4 separate regions of the Homo sapiens genome follow, and all the other regions are linked to region 2. Evidence: promoter capture Hi-C in human tissues and cell types (Jung and others, 2019). All regions are on one chromosome and are shown on one strand. The core of a region is centred on a gene start or on the middle of the fragment in contact, and the rest is flanking DNA. Distances in the headings are between cores, read along the strand shown. Region 1 overlaps ST8SIA2 (ST8 alpha-N-acetyl-neuraminide alpha-2,8-sialyltransferase 2). Region 2 holds the start of ST8SIA2 (ST8 alpha-N-acetyl-neuraminide alpha-2,8-sialyltransferase 2). Region 3 has its middle 62 kb from the start of ST8SIA2. Region 4 has its middle 36 kb from the start of ST8SIA2.

The links. The method cuts DNA at HindIII sites, captures the fragments that hold promoters and counts their contacts. A contact is called where the count stands out against the background at its distance.
Region 1: a fragment that was not itself captured here is called in contact with the fragment with the promoter of ST8SIA2 in region 2 in 1 of the 25 tissues and cell types used here (small bowel).
Region 3: a contact is called between a fragment that was not itself captured here and the fragment with the promoter of ST8SIA2 in region 2, in 1 of the 25 tissues and cell types used here (aorta).
Region 4: a fragment that was not itself captured here is called in contact with the fragment with the promoter of ST8SIA2 in region 2 in 2 of the 25 tissues and cell types used here (aorta and mesendoderm cells).

Annotation. Positions count from the first base shown.
Region 1 is chr15:92,442,664-92,445,363 of GRCh38, reverse strand. ST8SIA2 (ST8 alpha-N-acetyl-neuraminide alpha-2,8-sialyltransferase 2) reads right to left here. Exons shown (of 6, transcript NM_006011.4): 5 at 435-728. Among named protein-coding and RNA genes, the nearest start is that of C15orf32, 28 kb to the left of the region's middle. The HindIII fragment of the contact is 4,665 bases long and covers 1-2,700 here.
Region 2 is chr15:92,392,624-92,395,323 of GRCh38, reverse strand. It overlaps ST8SIA2 (ST8 alpha-N-acetyl-neuraminide alpha-2,8-sialyltransferase 2), which reads right to left and starts at 1,443. Exons shown (of 6, transcript NM_006011.4): 1 at 1,162-1,443. The coding sequence starts at 1,259. The HindIII fragment of the contact is 17,571 bases long and covers 1-2,700 here.
Region 3 is chr15:92,330,919-92,333,618 of GRCh38, reverse strand. No RefSeq gene overlaps it. Among named protein-coding and RNA genes, the nearest start is that of ST8SIA2, 62 kb to the left of the region's middle. The HindIII fragment of the contact is 5,298 bases long and covers 1-2,700 here.
Region 4 is chr15:92,356,404-92,359,103 of GRCh38, reverse strand. No RefSeq gene overlaps it. Among named protein-coding and RNA genes, the nearest start is that of ST8SIA2, 36 kb to the left of the region's middle. The HindIII fragment of the contact is 3,846 bases long and covers 1-2,700 here.

The DNA.
Region 1 (2,700 bases), core at 77-2,576, 50 kb before region 2:
TCCCTGAAGAGGCAACTAAAGTTTAAAGAGATTAAGGTGAATTACTTGAAGTCAAGTGCATCTGATCCTGATTTTCTTGAAAATCACACACCTGGGATGGTATGTGACTTGCCAGCCGCCATCTCTCCTCCCATGTTCATGGCGTCTGTTCCCATTGAGCCTCAAGACAGCCCCACCCCCAAGATCATTCTCAACTCAGTTCCCTAGGCAGGCACTACCCATTGGTCAAAATTGGCATGCCAGATGAAACCCACTTGCCAAACCCCCTCATCTCTCAAGGAATGGAGGCTCAGAAAGGCCAGGTGACTTGCTGAGGCCATCCAGCAAATGAGTGGTGGAGCTGGGATGGAAATGCACCTGGGAAAGGGATACTGCCTACCAAGAATCTCCCACACTTAGTGACGGTCCTACTGGCCTGTAGGGAGGCCGCTCACCCGCGAACGGCGTGCAGCAGGCGCAGCGAGGGGTATGCAGTGCGCACGTTGACGTGGTGCTTCAGGATAAGCTCGTTGACCCACTCAACACGCTCCTTGCCGCCCCGGGCCATGAAGGCAGGGATCCACAGGATGCTGCCATTGAGGCTGTGCAGCCGTTGCAGCAGCTTCTCCCGCCACGTGGCATTGACCAAGTCCTCAAAGGCCCGCTGGATGACCGAGGGGTTCATGGTTACCAGGTCTGTCTTGAGCCCCACATCCCGGGCATACTCCTGTACTGGGGCCAGGTTGCACCTGCCGGAGAAAAAGGCAACATGATCCTTTTGGGAAAGCTGAGACCCCTTCCTCTGTTTAACTCGATCCCATCCTTTGCCTCTCCTTGCTTCTTTCTCATCCCCAAACAAAGACCCAGGGCATCTCTCCACACTCACAGGCCCCTCCCATCATCCTTTCTCCTCCTTTTTCTGCCACAAAGGTTTACTGAGCTCATATCGTGTACCTAGAACTTTGCTAGACCCTGTGGATGTAAATGCCTGTCTTCTGGAGTTCAGGATCTAGGAGAGGAGGAAAGAAGCAAGTAAGCCAGTCCTCAGTCCACAAGATGATGATGCTGTTGCCAAGAGTGATCTGGCCCATTAGGTGACAGAGTGAGGGATCTGAAGGCAGACTCCCAGGCTCTAAACTGGCTTGGACACTTTCTACCTGTGTGAGTCTGGGAAACTTGCTCAACCTCTCTGTGCTTCCTGAGACCTTCCATTACTTTAGCTTTGATAGAGATCACAACAGCATCCCTCCCAAGGATTAAAAGAATTGCTATATGCCCAGTACTTAGAACACTACTGGATATAATAAGAGCTTGATAAATGCTAACTGTTGTCATCGCTCTTATGGGAAGGAGGAGTGTCAGGTGGACTTCCCTGAGGTGGTGACCACTAAGCAGAAGTCTGTTAGTGGACAAGGTACACGAAAAGAGTGCTTCTCCAGTTTGCCAAGTCAGAAGAATCACCCCAGGCGCTCGTTAAAAATATAGATTCCCGGGTTCCTCGGCTGGAGATTCTGATTCAGCAGGTGAGCCTAAGCATCGATACCTATTTTTCACAAGCTCTTTCTCTTCAGGTAGTGTTATAGCCAAGCAGGTTAGGAATACCATGCTAGAGCACTGTAGGCACAAGAAAGGCATCCAAGGGCAGAGAGGTGAGAAACAGCATGGGTGTTTAGGGAAAGGCAAGTGATCTGGTCCGACTGGAGCATATTGTGTGGAGGAGATGGGCTTGGGGAGGCAAGCAGAGTGAGATATCAAAGGACCTGTGTGCCAGGGACTTGGTTCTGGGGGCAATAGGGAGCCACTGAGGGTTCTGGAGCAGGAGAGTGACAGGGACGGTTTAGAATTTTTGGCCACGATTAGAAAGCAATGAGATGAAGTTGCAGTATGGATTGGAGGGGATGGATTTGGGTACTGGAGGGCAAACTAAGAGGCCACTGCAAACTCATGCTGACAATCAGGCTGCCTGGGTGAGCAGCCTCTGCTATTTAACCTGATGACTTCCTTGTGGGAGACCCGGCCTGGGTGTGCACACCTGGGTTTCCTGCCTGTGCCTAGGACTGGGATGGCAGCAGAGGGCACTGCAGGGGAGGTCTGGCTGCTGTCTGGCACAGAGGATTTAATGGTGGAAAAGCCCTTTGACCAGTGAAAATAAGTCTGAGAAATCCAGTTAAGAGTGTAAAAATAGAGGCTGGAGACATGAAGACAAGGGATCACAGGTCATCATCAAACGAAGAAATCCAGGAACGTACCATTTATCCTCCCTTTAAGCAAGGACTTTCCTTTTTCAACAACTGGGGAGAAAAAGTGGGTTAATCAGAAAGAAAACTAATATTTTTTGAGCCCCTGGTGTGTGCCAGGCACTGACTGGTCCTTTAACATAGGTCAGCTCTTTTTTTTTGTGACCCAGTTTTAATCACCCTCCTGTCACACAGGAGGAAATGGAGGCCCAGTGTGTGAGAATCAACTTGCTCAAAGGCCCAGAGCTAGAAAGGGAACCACCAGGAGTCAAGATCAGGTATATTTGACTCAAAGAGCCTGTTTGTGATTTCAGACTGAACCCCCTAAAATATCGCGTCTTCCCATCCCTGCCCCTAGGCCTTGCTATCTTTGACTGTGGCTAAACATTGTAAGCAGATAGGATTGCCCTGGGTCAATTCACCTTCAGGAGCCCTTGCCACAGGCCTCAGAGACTGAGGTGTCACTGCAGCACATCAGCCAGTG
Region 2 (2,700 bases), core at 194-2,693:
CAAATGAAGTAACAAATGGGACAAAGGAGGGGCGCACGCGGCGCGGGACTCGAGAAGAGCGCCTGGCAGAGCACAAATCCCACAGAAGAAGAGACCTTCTGCCCTCTTTGAGACCTCACCTTCCCCTTGCCCAGGGCCAGGAAGCTCTCCTCGGGCCTCCTCAGAACCCCGGCTGCCTCCCCACCTGTCGTCTACCGCCCTTTGGAGGTTCCGGAGAGGGGCCCGGCCCGGCGAGCCGAAGGCTGCGGGGCGGGGCGCGAGTCTCAGCCCCTGGGACACACAGCCGGTGCGTCCCGCGCCTCAAGTGCGCACTCCAGGAAGTCCGGAGCCGGGAGGATCCGGGCTCGCGGTCCCACCCTACCTCTGGCGAGGTCGGGAGAAAAAAAGCGCCAGATCGCCCGCCTGAGGGCCCAGAAGCCCACCGGGCGGCGGTACAGACTTTCCCGAAATGTCTCCGTCTCCGCGCTGCGAGCGCACAGGAACCCAGGGTCGCCGGGGTTGCCGTGGCTTGGCTGAACGTCCAAAGCCAGGCGAGGGCGGGGGGTCTCAGTCCAGCTATGCGAGCCCTTCTCTAGTGGTGCCAGCTCCTACGCCGGGCTCCCGGGCCGGCGGGAGGCGCGTGTGCCTGTCTGTGTGTGCAGGGGACATTCCGCTTCCCAGTAGCCCATGCAGAACCCCGCCCTCCGCTCCGGCCCCAGGAACCCCTCCCCCAGCTCAGAGATCCCTGCGCGCCCCCTGCCCACTTTGCCAAGGCGAGAAAGCGGCCGTGCTGGAGACAAAGAAACTCCTGCCTCCCTCCACTCTCGGCCCCTCCGCCCGCCCGAGACACTCCCCGGCGCCCTCCCTCGACCCCGGCGACACTGCGCTTGGACACGCCAGGCAGGGGGGCAGGGTGGGCGAGTCCGCTTCCCGACGCGGGCCAGCTGGGGGCTTCCCGTGAACCCCGCCCGGGGACACCCCACAGCAGCCGCGCCCCCACCCTCCTCTCCCCAAACCGTCCCGGGCCCCTGTCGCCGCCACCTTCTGCCAAACCGTCCCCATCTCTCCAGCGGAGCTACAGCGGGGCGCGGCGCACACAAAGGGGGTCGGAGGGTGGAGAGTACAGAAGGAGGGAGAGATCCCGCCAGGGCTCGTGGCACGGGCCTGGGAGCAGCTATTTACCCGATTTCTTCTTCGATCTCTGAGATGTCTGCGAAGATGAGGAAGACCACGAGCAGCGTGAGCGCGGCCAGCATCCAGCTCCGGAACTGCAGCTGCATGGTGGGTTCGCGCCCGCCGGGACCCACGCGGGCCGGCGCGAGGAGCAGGGGCCGGAGGGCGCAGCGGCGGACGCCGGAGCCTCCGCGCGCCGCGCGCAGCTGGGCAGACACCCTGCGCTCCGGACGAGTCCGGGCCGGCGGCGGCAGCGGCAGCGGCAGCGGCAGCGACAGGCAGGGGTTGCTCAGGCGCGGCGAGCCCGCTCGCTCCCTCCCGGCTCCCGCCTGCCCCTCCCTCCCTCCTCTCCCTTCCCCCGCCCCGCGCCCGGCTCCGCGCGCAGTTTGACAGCTTTGCTCCGCGCCTCTGCTCGCCTCCTCCCACCAACTCCAGCGTCCAGGCGCTAGCCTTTGCTTCTCCCGCCTGGCTTTATTCAGCTCCCGAGGGCGCGGGGATGCAGCCGGACGCCACTCCTGGCCTAGAGAGACTGGGCTCTGGCCACCGCGAGCGACCGGGTACGGAGCTGAGCCCAGGGAAGTGCGCGCACCGCCCGGCGCACCCCTCAGGCTGGCAAACGCCCTCCCTCGCCCGCTCTTTGTCCAGCTCCCTCGCCTCCTCGCAAAGTTTTCTCGACACAAAGACCAACACCTGGGGACAGCCCCCAGCGCGCGGCGAGAAGGCGGTTTCAGCCAGGCAGATGTTTCAGCAGTTGATGAATTAGGAGGGGAGGTGGGGGAAGGGGAGGAGAGAAGAAATATCCAAGACAGGCCAACTTCAGTGAAGATGCTGACTACAGTTTGTGGGCGAGGCTCTCAGCCCTCGAGAAACCACTCCCTCCAGGTGCTGATCTTTATCTCCATTTATAGACCCGATACTGGGTCGGGAGAGCTCTCCGAGCTGCCCCCAGATCACGCAGTCCTGGCTGGAACCCTCGGCTAGAACCCCAATGGGAGACTCAGCGCCCGCCTTCCCTCCGCCCTCGCGGTGCTGACGCCGGGTGGCCTTCATCTCCCCAGTTCTTGGACTCTCAATGACCCTAAGATCAATAACCGCGGGAGGCCTGTCTTGATCAAAATGCCTTCTAGAAAAATATGGCTCCCACAAGGGGTAATGCCCCCCACCCTTCCGAATATTGTACACTTTCACAGCCTTAGACAGTTTAAGTCAAATTACATTTCACACCAACCATTGGCCAGGGGTGGGAAGGGCCCCATTAAGTTTTACTGGAATTAGATAATTACCTTTTATTTTCTTTGCACGAATTGGAACAATTCCTGAAATTAAGAAATGTAACTTTCCAGAAATGATCATCTGGTTTATGAAAGGGTCCTTTGGGTTTGAGTGTGGGGAGGAGGAGTCCTGTTGGAGAAGCTACATGGAATGTCCTAAGTGCTGGAAACCACACCCCAGTGAATGGGAGGGGCGTGTCGGCCTTATCCCCTGGACCACTCAGAGGAGTTTGGCGAGGGGCTGGCAGCAGCCAAGTCCCTTCATGGCGCCCCCGGG
Region 3 (2,700 bases), core at 58-2,557, 62 kb after region 2:
CTGAACTGGCCTCGACCCACACAGGCCCACCATCCTGTGGCAGTCAGTGGGAATGGGCTCCCTAGGTACATTGTTCTATTTAACTCTCATCACAAGTAGGGGGTATGGTTTTATCTTTATTATTCTGTTGATAGAAAATACAACACTGAGGTTACTTGACTCTTCCCAAATCATATAGCTAGAAAACAGGAGAACGGGTCTACTCACCAATGAAATTAAACACTTTGTTTTTTGGCACACATGAGCCATGTACTGGAAATGGATTCCAATAGGGAGGAGAGGACAGATTTAAAAAGCAAATAATTATCACACCATACACAGGGGCTCATGACTGGGCTCTGCTCCATTCTTAAACCCAGTGTTCTTCTGTACCCCCTATACCGAACCATCCTTCATTGGTAATCCAGGTGGGAGATAGTAGTGACTTAGACCAGGGTGTACATGGTGCAGAGTCATCAGATTCTTGTAAGAAACAATCAATTCTTATATTATTAAAGTTACTCCAGATAAGGACAATAGGAGAAAAGAAATGTATAGTCTTATTTTATGTATTAATGTAGAAACAAAATCCTACACAAAATATTAGCAAACTAAAACCAACAGTGCATTAAAAATATACAAGGAACCCCTTGTAGATAAATAAGAAAAACAGCAACCTCAATAGAAAAATAGTCAAAGGATGTGGACATATAATTTATGAAAGAGGAAATCAAAAGCATCTGAGGAAATGCTCAAAATTATTACTAATCAAAGAAAGGCAAATACAAAATAAAGATAATGCCAAATATTGGTGGATACTTAGGGAGGGGAAGCCTTGGGCACTGCTCCCAGGAGAGCAGACGTACATGGGCATTCTGTAGAGTACAGCTGGTTCACTTAATTGAGTTCAATTAAGTAGATACACACTGCATGACTCAGCAATTCTATCCCTTGCTATGCAGTCCAAAGAAATCCTTACACAGCTCCCCAAGGGACATGCATATATAAAGTTTTTCACTGCAGCACTGGTTGAGGTGCCAGAAAGCTGGAGACAACCTGGCTGTCTGTCTTCTGTAGATTGGATAGGCAAATGTGGTGCGTGTACACAGCGGAGTATGGTGCAGCAGTTTAGAAACCACAGATTAGTTGTAGCCATAGCAACATGGATGAACTGTTTAAGAAATGGTAATTAGTGAGAAAGGTAAAATGCCAAAAGAAATCTATAGCTCAGTTAAAAAACGGAAATACATGCATACAAAACAACACTATTTTGCAAGAATACGTACAAACAGAAGCACAGAATGACATAGGGATGGTTTTCATCATTAGAAGGGAACCAGGAGTGGGGTGTATCTGTGAAAGTTCCAGCAGGAAGCAGGTGGCACCCCTAAATGAAGATAACTCAAGATAAGTGTATGTACAAAGGTGTGGGAGGGTGTAAGGAAACTCCCAGAGGTAGTATAGAAACCTGGAGTTACTGGAAGTAGAGCTGTTACTTCAACGCAGCCTGAAGGGAGGGAGGAGGGAACAGTTACTACAGGAATTCAAAGGGAAGAGAGAGTTCTTGCTCCAGGAGAGTGGTAGTGGCCTTCATGGTTGAGGGACCTAGCTAGGGACCTTGACCTCATCTCCTCTCTTCCTTGTCCAGCTAGAGCTCCCCATGGGCCAATCCAACAGAAAGCCAAAGGGCAAGGAAAGCCATTGATATAGCCACTGAAGCCTGCCTCTTGGACAGAAAGAAGTGTGAAGAAGTGTATTGGGGGATTGGGTCTGGAGGGACAAATGGCAGCTGTGTGACTAATGGGCTATGAGGAAAAAGGGTGCTAGTTAATAAAACAATCAAATAAGTATAAACATAGAGGGAGGGCAAATAAAGACAATTTTCTACCTAAGAGGAATCCAGGATCAGTGGTAAAAAAAAAAATGAATTTTTTAGACCACATATTGATATCCTACACTGTGTGTTTGACACAAGTAAATTTGTTTTCTATGTTCATATTTATCATATTTACCATAAAGTTTGTCAGTTAACATGTAAATGAAAACACCAGTGATCTCAAATAATAGTAAACTTTTGGAAATGTAACCTTCGAGTATGCACGTTTTTATTAGACTTTTCAGAAATAGTTACATAAATGGAATTTCTGAGCCAAGCTTTTATATAATCCTTGCAGACCTGCAGCATCCCCTGGGACCCTAGAGGTTTAGGGCCACAGTTTAAAAATTACTTTCTTGAATGAATGCATATCTCTCTGTGATTATCTAATCCAAGCCATCAATCTCCATAATGTCTCCTCTCTTCCAGCTCCGGCCTTTGATTAATCCAAATTTCTCCTAGTTTCTTTTATTACAGTGTATTAATGTTTAAAATACCATAGTCTATAAGAGTGCAATTAAGTGGCCTCTGGAAAATTCCACTCCTTCTTGCACTTGAATGATGAAGCTTCTGAAAATGACTTGACCATAATGTAATCAGAGGACAGGCCTTCTTCCCCCACAACCCCCACCCTTTCTCACAGTTGGATGTTAAATGTGGCACTTGTGAACATCACTGGAACTTGCGAGGTGAGGCACAATGAAGTCCAGGCTTTGAGATCGGCAGTGACTTCATGAGGCCTGAGGCAATGACAAAGAGCCCCCAGGTAAGGTGGCTTCCATTATGGGTGCTTTCCCCAGACCCTGCAGGGAGGGACCAGGCCTCAGTAAGGTCCACAGGCCAGC
Region 4 (2,700 bases), core at 68-2,567, 36 kb after region 2:
GAAAAGAAATTTAGCTCTTTTATGAGGGATGAACCTTTGTTCTTTTTTGTTTTGTTTTGCTTTTTCAATAATCAAGAGTATAATAAAATTGACATAAGACACAGAAAATTGTTAATTATTGATAATTGATAATTACTGATAATTACTTCTAATAACAAAATTATTCTGAATCTTTTATGTCTTGGATGATCACGCAGAAGGTAAAGAATATTCTTTCATATTGTAGGTAAAGATATTGGTCAGTAAACAAGAAAACTCGCCCTTCAAAATGAAGCAAACTCTGCCAAAATGTTGACATGTCTCATATTTTCTTTTTAGATTCAGGCATTATAAACTAAGGAAAATAAAATTCACTTCTCATCTTTTGTCTTTCATTTACCTTCATATTCTGGAACAGATTGGCTTGAAAAAACAAAAGCACATAGGCTCTTACATTTCTTTGTGTTCCTAGTAGACAGTTATGGTTTGGCTGTGTCCCCACCCAAATCTCACCTTGAATTGTATGCCCACAATTCCCAAATGTTGTGGGAGGCACCCAGTCAGAGATAATTGAATCATGGTGGCAGTTTCTCCCATACTGTTCTCGTGGTAGTGTTTTCATGGTAGTCTCACGAGATCTGATGGTTTTACAAGGGAAACCTGTTTCGCTTGGCTCTCATTCTCTCTTGCAGCCATCATTTAAGAAGTGCCTTTTGCCTTCCGCCATGATTGTGAGGCTTCCCTATCCACGTGGAACTCTAAGTTCATTAAACCTCTTTCTTCTGTAAATTGCCCAGTCTCAGGTATGTCTTTTTTTAGTTTTATTTATTTATTTATTTATTTATTTATTTATTTTGAGATGGAGTCTTGCTCTGTCGCCCAGGCTGGAGAGCAGTGGCCCAATCGCGGTTTACTGCAAGCCCCGCCTCCCGGGTTCACACCATTCTCCTGCCTCAGCCTCCCAAGTAGCTGGGACTACAGGTGCCTGCCACGACCCCGGCTAATTTTTTGTATTTTTAGTAGAGAGGGGGTTTCACCGTGTGTTAGCGGGGATGGTCTTGATCTCCTGACCTCATGATCCGCCTGCCTCGGCCTCCCCAAGTGCTGGGATTACAGGAGTGAGCCACTAAGCCCGGCCTCAGGTGTGTCTTTATCAGCAGTGTGAAAATCGGCTAATACATACAGTCTTAATCATCCATATTAATTATGACTTTTAACTTAAGTAACTTCTATTTCACAGAGAAAATTTCGGGGTAGATAATTGAGAACTGTCTGTCATATAGAAGCATTTTAGCAGACTAACAAAGCTTGTGATACACATAATACAATTTTCTTCATCTAGACATTTACACTTCAAAATGAACATGTTCGTTAATATGATCCAAAAATATAGCTGTATAGCATGTAAAGATAAGAGTCAGAAGTCCATAAACTTTATGCTTAGTAATCAATGTTGTCATATTCTATGTTATTTAATAGGAGATATCTGGGTTTCTAAAATCCATTAATTAATTCACTTTAATATTTGTCTAAGTTTTAATTTAACTAAAGATGTTGAAAATTATGTCTAAACTGGTTCACTCTGAAGAATAATTGCTGTTGATATGAAAAGTTTGTCAGAATAATTCAACTTAGTTGAACACAAATTTATAATTTTCATAATCTTAAACATCATGTAGGAGTTTGTTTAGTAAATTAGTAGTTATTAGCTTATTTGATTAGTAAACCTGTACATGTTTAGAAGATTCAGATAATTATTTTGTCCTTGAGAAAACAAACTCAAGTAAAATAATGTGTACTGTTATATTATACTTAACACTCATAAATCAGAGAATAGACAGTTTTTCTTAACCTAGTGTGATTTCCAAAATTTACCTTAATTATGTAAACTTGGTTTCTTAAAATGTTTGAGTGAACAATTTGTGAAAGAAGGATTTTTTAAAAGTGTAGTCTATGATGTTAAAGTATAAATTCAATGTTTTATTTTCTAAAAATTTTAGAAATATTCTATTTATACAAGTGTTTATCTTTATAAACTAACCAGAACAGAGCCTCCTGTAATTTTAGAAACATTATAATCTAATTTATTAATACCATCCCATAATAAGAAAACAATTCATACGTCTACAAGGAGAAGTCAAGGCCTTTCTCAATTACAGACAAATGATCATATAGAGTTAGTAGCTTCAGTGCTACAACTTTAGCCAGAAGTCAAAAATAAATACAGAAACACCAAAATCTTCTGGTCCAGATTTCAAAGAGTCAATCTACTTTCTGGTGGATATGAAATTCTTAATTGTTTTCAGCTCAAAATAGACAAATAGACCAATGAACAGGAAGGACTAGCAAACCAGGTATCTGCCATCTCTCTCTCACTCAGTAGAGACTAGATCTGTATCATCCCTCTGCAGAGATTACCGAAGAGTTAAACCATAAAACCAAATTCATCATCATTACTGCCATCTTGGGGAATTAATTTATTGGCTCTGTGTGAACCACTGACAAAACAAAGGCACCAAAATAGTCGAGAGGAAACAACTTCCCTTTTTGCCTTTCCTCTTCACTGACCCTCTTGTTTAGAGAAAGCTCCCTGCTGCTGTGGCCTGAGTCCCACGGGCAGCTCTGGGCGGAGCAGATGGTTTCAGCATGGCCTTTGCTGATGGAAGTCAACACCACTCGTCTGATGCTCTTCGTGGGATGCTCCTAGCGTGACAGCAAACA